Regions from separate parts of the Homo sapiens genome. Here region 2 is linked to region 1. Evidence: promoter capture Hi-C in 16 types of primary human blood cells and fetal thymus (Javierre and others, 2016). All regions are on one chromosome and are shown on one strand. Each heading gives the region's core, a stretch centred on a gene start or on the middle of the fragment in contact. The rest is flanking DNA. Distances are from core to core; before and after follow the strand shown.

Region 1 (3,889 bases), core at 374-2,873:
AAGTCCTTTTATTTATTTGGGCTCAGTTTCCTCATTTTTTCCACCTGGAGTTTGACAGTTGGTGGGAATGGACAGCACTAGATAAGTTTCAAATTAAGTAGACTAGTCGGGTGCCGTGGCACACGCTTGTAGTTCCAGATACTCAGGAGGCCGAGTCAGGAGGATCGCTTGAGCTCAGGAGTTCCAGGCTGTAGTGAGCTGTGATGGGAACCATTGCACTCCAGCCTGGGCTACAGGCCCTATCTCTAAAAAAGTATCATAAATAAATAAAGGAGAAAATGCAGGTCAAGCGCTAGCACTGTGCAGGGCATGTGTTATGCTAGTAGATGTCACTGATTCTCCAGCTCTAGGTACACTCCTGTCTTCTCTGGCAGACAGCAGCATTCCCCAGCAGGGGCTGGTGGCTAGCCCACGCAGAGGCTCCTCCAATGGCAGGCTCCTCCCCTCTGCAAGCCCTACAGCTCAAGGGAAAGAAACTTTCCCATCACAGAGAACTCAATAAACCAGTTTTCCAAAATCTCTCTTCCCTGTGTTTACCCGTTTGTTATGAATTTACTTCTTGGGTGTCAGAATATTTAAGAACTCGGTGGAGACCAGTTTTATACGTTTCCTTCTGTCCTTCCTGGCTCCACAGCTGCAAAAACATCATCCCCACTACTGAGCTTACTATGGGGCCACGCAAGGGTAGACGCTTGACAGACATTGTCCAATGTATTCCTTACTGCAGCTGCCCACCCCCGCCGTCCCCGCCCCCCAGGGAGACATTACTTCCGTCTTCCCCAAAAGGAAAACGAGGCACCGAGAAGTTAAGGAACTTGCTCAAGGTCACAGAGTTTGAACTCAGGCTACAGATGCTGCAGCAACTGGAGAAAGTCCTCATCGCCCCATATCACCCACCACCGACCCCCAGCAGGACGTGACCCCCGCCAGGACGGAGGCCGGCAGCTGGGGGGCTGGAGCATGGGACCCAGAACACGGACTCAGGCTTGCGCAGCCTCCTGGCTTCTAGGCGGGAGCCTAGAAAGGCGCCAGCCCCTTTCGCGTGCTGCTGAGACTCCAGGGGTGGGGTTCACTCTCAGGGGCGCACAAAGGCATGAAAACCTTGGCTTCAGCCTCTGAGATGCGGAACTGACCGACCTATTGTCTTGGGACCCACCAGTGCGCTTGGGTGCACCAGCCCCCTTAACGTTGGTGCCGGCTCCCTCCCGGCTCCTCCCCATCCCAGAGGGTCCCCTCGCCCCAGGCCCTGAGCCTGCGTCCTGGGGTCCTGGGCCGCACGTGCCTCTGGCAGCTCGAAGAAGCTGTCGGGGCTTGCAGGAGAGCGTGCAAACTGAAACCAAAACAGGCCGACTCGAGGAACATCCGGGTGGGACCGCAGACTCACCGGAGCGCAGCGCCTGGGCCAGGGCCTGGGACCCTGCTCCGCCCCGCGCTCCCCTGCACCCCTTCCCCACGCTGCTCCCCTCTTCCTAAGCGGCCCCCCCTCTCCCGGGCAGCAGAAGAAGGGGTGGGACCCGGGCGGGCTCCGGGAGGGGGCCCTGGAGGAATGGATGGTGGCGGAAGGGCGGAGCAGGGGCGGGGCCCGCGGAGACTCCACGGGGCGCCCCGGGCGTGAGGCACCCACTCTGGGAGCACAGAGAGCTCAGGTAGCCTGCCTAGATGGCGGCGCGCACCCTGGGCCGCGGCGTCGGGAGGCTGCTGGGCAGCCTGCGAGGGCTCTCGGGGCAGCCCGCGCGGCCGCCGTGCGGGGTGAGCGCGCCGCGCAGGGCGGCCTCGGGACCCTCGGGCAGCGCTCCCGCAGTTGCAGCAGCAGCAGCACAGCCAGGCTCGTATCCCGCGCTGAGTGCACAGGCAGCCCGGGAGCCGGCCGCCTTCTGGGGGCCTCTGGCGCGGGACACTCTCGTGTGGGACACCCCCTACCACACCGTCTGGGACTGCGACTTCAGCACTGGCAAGATCGGCTGGTTCCTGGGAGGCCAGTTAAATGTCTCTGGTGAGTGGGCTTCGGGAGACCCAGGACGCCCCCAACTCTTGGGTCCCGAGGGGACTCGGAGCCTCTCGCCAGCGGCAGCCGTCCCCGGGCAGCGCGGATCGCAGCCCTGCAGGGGCCCCTCCTCCGGTATTCCGTCCGCCCCGCCCGCTCTAAGCAGTGGCTCCACGTCACCCCGTCCCTCATCCCATCGGGCCCCAGATCCACGTGCCCAGCTCGGGCCGGCGCCCGCGGGGACCCGGCGGCCGCTTGGGACGCCCCGCTGCTGGCCTTGCTCGGCGCGGCTCCTCGCTCGGCGGACTCCAGAGTTGCGTTACCGGGTGCATAGCGCCGCTGAGCAAGAGCCGGCGGGGAGCCGCGGGCTACACCCGAGCGCCCCGGAGTCGGGACTTTCCCGTTCCCATACCGGGGTGGAGGGAAAAACAAAGCGGTGGCGGTTGTCACTGCGGGCTGCGGTGCCCGGGGATCAGCCTGGGGACAAGCCCTGCCCACGTAAACAAACAGAGCTGTGGCGGGCGACCTGGGGAGGAGGAAACTCGGCGTGGCAGCTGGAACCAGTTATTTCTTCGCTGCGGGCCTGGGGCCTGGGGCCTGTGGACGGGAAGGAAGTAACGGCGGCCTCCCCGTTCTCGTTCTCGGCCTCAGAGAACTGCACCCCAGCGACCTGGGGCCTGCTTTGGACCCGCGGGGTCTGACGTCGGCCCCAAACAGTTGACTGGTGGTCAGTTGTTTGGAACTTGCTGAGCAGAGGCCCTGCTGCTCTGCTAAGATTTGGGGCTGGGGGTCGTACACAGCACCCTCGCCCCCACCTAAGGCGCTGACTGGGCACCGAGGGGGAGGCCCTGAACTGCAGGCAGGGCTGGCCACGCAGGGTGGGTGCCAAGTGCGAGGTGGGCTCCGGATGCAGGGTGGGCCTGGGTGTGGGGCCTGCGGGGAGGGGCTGGCAGACACGGTGTTGATCAGAGGGATGCAGACCAGAAGGGTGGTCATAACCAGCTTGCTGGATTTGGGAGTGTTTAAGAAAGGACCTGCGGGTCTTTATGGCAGGGTCACCAGGGCCCCATTTTCTCCAACTCCTCCCTCAGTTGTCCTTGTTGTTCTGCCCCCCCAGCCCTCAGTCTCCTCATTGTGAGGATGGGGGCAGTCATGCTCAGAGGTTAGGCTGAGTGCTGCAAGGTGTGCAGCAGACCCAGCGCTTACTGGTGACCCATAAGCAGTAGCGATTTTAGATAACTTCAGAAATAGTCATACAATTATAGATAGTGTCTTGCAGTTATTTTTCAAAGAAATTGGAAGGAACTTTGGACCTCCCCCACTCCCCGAAATTGTATATTACTTTGCTGGTTTAATTAAAATGAGTCACTTACTAGATAAGTGTTTTCTTTAACATTGAGTCAGCAGCAAGTGCCCTTGAACTAGTGGGAAAAAAACCAAACCCTTTGGTTTGCAGAGTTGGGGCAATGTGCCCTTGAAGGAGACTAGAGCAGCTTGCCCAAGGACAGAGGTGGAAAGTGACCTGCTCTGGACTTGTGAGGCCAAGGTCATGGGGAACATTCACAGTTGGCCTGTGCACACTTGCAGCCCCACTCAGATAAGACAGTGGGGCGGACCTCCTGGGGCCAACAGCAAGGACCTTCTGAACCTCGCTCGGTCAGGATCAGGGTGTGGTCAGCAAGCATTCTTCTGTCTCCTTTTCCTTCACTTATTTCTTCTGATAATATGGCCTTTATGGCTACGTTAGCCAGAAATTGAGCTTCAGAAAACTAACTTGAAAAACAGCTTTTCAGCAGCTTTCTCCCCTGGGATGTGCGTGCCCTCCTGTTCATGGGTCAGCAATATCTCTTTCCTTTGCCGGTGTCTGCAAACCATAGAGAAGACAGTATGAAAAAGGGCCAGGCC
Region 2 (4,176 bases), core at 780-3,279, 630 kb before region 1:
TTGATGAGTTTTGAGAAATGTATATAGTGAAGTCTTGATCATCAAATCAACATATGAACATTTTTCATCTCCCAAAAATGTAGGAGCTGTTTTTTTATCTTAGGAGAATTTTAATGAAATATACGTGGAGGAGCTAAATGTTTCAAGTTTGCCTCATATTCATATCTAATTTATTGGTAACTAATTTAAACCACTTTCTTACGGCTCTCAGTTTCTGTTCCTACAGGATATTAACTCCCACAGATGGCAACAGATGGCAGGAGTGAGACCAAACAGTTTGCAGTGTTCTCCATTCACACCCTGGAAATGAAAGTTTTCTCTATTTTTCCTCTCCAAATTATCTTGGAAGGGATATTCAATTTTTTTCAAATTTACTATGAAAAATATTGAAGTAGGAACTAAAGTAGAGAGAATATATAACAGATCTCTCTGTTCCCTTGTTGCACCTTAACACTTTGCTCTTCTTATTTCATCCAACCCCCTCCCCACCCCATGCTTTCTGTTTTCAGGCTAGAGCATCTTGAAGCCAATCCAAGACACCATTTTATCTGTAAATTTACTGCAGCTACTTCTCTGAGGACTATTTTTGTTGTTACTGTCTTGCCTTTTAACGTAACTAGAGTACCAGAATCATACTCAACAAAATTAGCAATGTATTAATTTCACTCATTACCCAGTTTATGCAGAAATTTTCCAGGTCTCAAAAATTTCTCCTTACAATTCAGATTTCACACTCAGGTTCATTAAGATGGGAAGCATGAGAGAAGAAATATCTAGAAACCAGCTCAGTAGTGCCCCTTGTCTGTTTTACTTCTCTCGTTGTGATCTAGGTAAAGGAAGTTTCCCTACCTTGGCAAACTTCCCATTTGCTTGCTTAGGTGCTGAGGCTTGTTCATTCTTTCCTTGCCATAGCTTTTTCCTTCCCTTCCTTCCTTCTGCCTGCCAGGCTCATCTCCTAATTCTACTTCTACCCATAAGGACAAATAATGATCACACCACTTACCTAATTGCCTGGCCCTAGTTCTGGTCCCAACTATAATCAGAAATGTGGATTCTGGAATGGCAGTGAGGAGCGACGTGGACTGTATCTCCAGTAAAACACCATAACTGGTAATTTAGAAAACCAAAAACAACCATTTAAACTACACGGAATTTGTCTTAAGACCACTCAGGAATTTAGAGAAACATTTATTCAGAAAAATCAACTGAGCCTTTCTGAGAACAGTGAGAGTCTGTAACATTTGACACACAAACTGCTACCCTCCCCACCCCCATTTTGGTCCACTCTGAGAGAAACTCCACTGTGGGCTGTGAAAATCACAAGATGGAACCCTGTCCCTCTCCAGTTCTCAGTCTATGGTGACAGCTTTTCCCTGAGAGAGGCACGATGCCACTATTCTTAACTTCTCTCCCCCTGCCAGTCCTGTGTTCCTGAAGCTGGTTTCATGTAAGTATAGTTGAGAAGTGTGTTTGGGTGTGGACCTCCTTGAATTTATTCTTGGAGTTTGTTGAGTGTGCTGGCCTTGTAGATTCATGTCTGTCTTCAAATTTTGAAGTTTTGGCCATTATTTCTTCAGTAATCTATCAGCATCTTCTAGACACCCATATATATGTCCAGTTAATGGCACCTTATAACTCTTTTGGCTCTGTTTATTTCATTCTTTTCTCTTCTGCTTCTCTGTCTCTGAAATTTCAAATTCTTCTCTTTATGTTTACTGATTATTTCTTCTGCCTGCTCATCTGCCGTTAAATCCCTCTACTGAATTTTTCAATTACTGTGTTTTCGGGTCCAGAATTTTTGTTTGCTTCCTTTTTGTAATCTCTGTTGGTATTTTGTTCATATATATTTTCCTGATTTCCTTTTCTCTACCCGTGTTTCATGAGTTTTTGAGAATATTTTAGACAGTCTAAAATCTGTCTAGTTTGCCTGAAGCTTATGTTTCTCCGGGGAAGGTTTCCGTCACTTTATTTTCTTCCACTTATTGGGCCATGTTTTCTGAGTTTTTGTTGTTGTTGTTAGAAATTAGGCATTGTGGAAAAAACAACCTCCTTTTCCGGTTTTTGCAGACTGACTCTTTTCCAGGGAGGATTTTTGCTATTATCTTGGTATTCGTTCTAAGCTTTGGGATCAATCTGAGGAGAAGGTTTAAGATTTTCTCAGGCCTTTTTGGAGCATGGATCTTACCTTTGCTTGTGGCTTTTTCCATTTTCTCATAGGCAACTGCTTTTAAATATTTATTTGTCCCAAGAGTCTCTCCTCTGGGCCTTTGATGGTCTGTTGTATGTCTCCACCCATAATATCTTGCCCCAGGCATCTGCTCTTCAATCTGTCTGCATCTTTGCCAAGCATGATCCAGTGCTTTTCTTCCCTAAGGTGTGAGATCCTCAAAACAGAGCAGTCCCTCAGGCAGCCTCCAACAGCTTAGAACCTTGTAAGAAAGGTCTACTGTGCTTTCTCAGGTTTGAGGGAAGGAAGTGGAAACTGAGATGCTGCTTTAGAAGCTCTGTTGTATTCTGCACCTGTAATTTTTTGCCCCAGGGATCTATAGGCAAGTTCACCATGAGATTTTTCCATTAGACAACACTTGGACAGGATAGAACATTGGGAATAAGGTGTATTGGGCTGCAAATATGACTGTCTCCTGTTTTGTTTTTGTTGTTGTTGTTGTTTTGTTTTCTTGAGACTATGTCTTGCTCTGTTGCCCAAGCTGGAGTGGAGTGGCATATTCAAGGCTCATTGCTGCCTCAACCTCTTGGGCTCAAGCCAGGAGTAGCTAGGACTACAGGCACGTGCCACCACATCCAGCTAATGTTTATATTTTTTGTAGAGATGAGCCTTTGCCATGTTGCCCAAACTGGTCCCGAACTCCTGGGATCAAGCGATCCACATGCATCAGCCTCCCAAAGTGCTGGGATTACAGGAATAAGCCACTGTGCCCAGCCAGCTGCCTTCTGTTTTTAATGTGGCTTTTTCTTGATTGGGCAGTTTCTTGAATGCTGGGGACTTTTGAGTATTTTCAAATGAAGTTAGCTCCTATAAGATTATTTTAGCCAATTTTTTGGTAAGCATAGAATTAGCAATATGATTAATGCTTTTTCTGTAAACTAGTGTTATGAAAAATCTCAAATGGGTAGCAAAATTGGGAGATGGTAATAGGAATCCCCATGTTGCCTTCATCCAGATTTGATCATTTTAAAACCATGGGTAGTTCTGTTAGATTTATCCCTTCCCCCTGTTTATGTGCCAAAGTATTTCAAACAAATCCAGATGTCTTGTTATTTTACCCATATATACTTGATCTCTGAGAGGATTTTTAATCAGTGTTGAGGTGTAACTTGCATACCGTAAGAAGCACTGCTTTTAACTGTATAATGAGTTTTGACTCTTTAAAGTATACACAGGTCACTTATCACCTCAATCAAGATACAGAACATTTCAACAAGAGTTCTCATGTGCCCTTACATGTAATCATTCCAGAGGAAAATAGTCAAGAATTCTCACCAAAATATGGACAAGTAGTATCCAGCAATACATGAAAAGGATGATATATTCTAGCCAAATAGAGTTTGTTCCCAAAAAACCGAGGATAGAGTGAACATAGAGTAAGCAACCTGTGGAGATATTTAACTTTTTTTTTTTCTTGATGCGGAGTCTTGCTCTGTTGCCCAGGCTGGAGTGCAGTGGCACGGTCTCCGCTCACTGCAAGCTCTGCCTCCCACGTTCACACCATTCTCCTGCCTCAGACTCCTGAGTAGCTGGGACTACAGGCGCTCGCCACCACACCCGACTAATTTTTTTTTTTTTTTTTTTTGTGACGGAGTCTCACTCTTGCTCAGGCTGGAGCGCAGTGGCGCGATCTCGGCTCACTGCAAGCTCTGCCTCCCGGGTTCACGCCATTCTCCTGCCTCAGCCTCCCGAGTAGCTGGGACTACAGGCGCCGCCACCACTCCCGGCTATTTTTTGTATTTTTTTGTATTTTCAGTAGAGACGGGTTTCACGGTGTTAGCCAGGACGGTCTCAATCTCCTGACCACGAGGAGGAGGCCCGCCTCAGCCTCCCAAAGTGCTAGGATTACAGGCGTGAGCCACCGCGCCCGGCAGAGATACTTACCCTTACTTAACCTATCTGTAGTTCTCCGCTTAGGAACAAAAGGAAAGGTAGCTTCTTGGATGAAT

Evidence for each region. Contacts are between HindIII fragments. The CHiCAGO score rates a contact against its expected background, and 5 or more counts as called.
Region 2: a fragment that was not itself captured here is called in contact with the fragment with the promoter of ACSS1 in region 1 in 2 of 17 cell types (total B cells and naive B cells); the score reaches 9.4 in total B cells.

Annotation. Positions count from the first base shown.
Region 1 is chr20:25,055,873-25,059,761 of GRCh38, reverse strand. ACSS1 (acyl-CoA synthetase short chain family member 1) reads left to right here and starts at 1,623. Exons shown (of 14, transcript NM_032501.4): 1 at 1,623-1,993. The coding sequence starts at 1,660. RefSeq lists enhancers at 1,142-1,747, 2,398-2,527 and silencers at 1,368-1,897, 2,028-2,297. The HindIII fragment of the contact is 7,356 bases long and covers 1-3,889 here.
Region 2 is chr20:25,688,771-25,692,946 of GRCh38, reverse strand. All of the region lies in intron 1 of ZNF337 (zinc finger protein 337), which reads left to right. Among named protein-coding and RNA genes, the nearest start is that of ZNF337, 6.0 kb to the left of the region's middle. The HindIII fragment of the contact is 187 bases long and covers 1,936-2,122 here.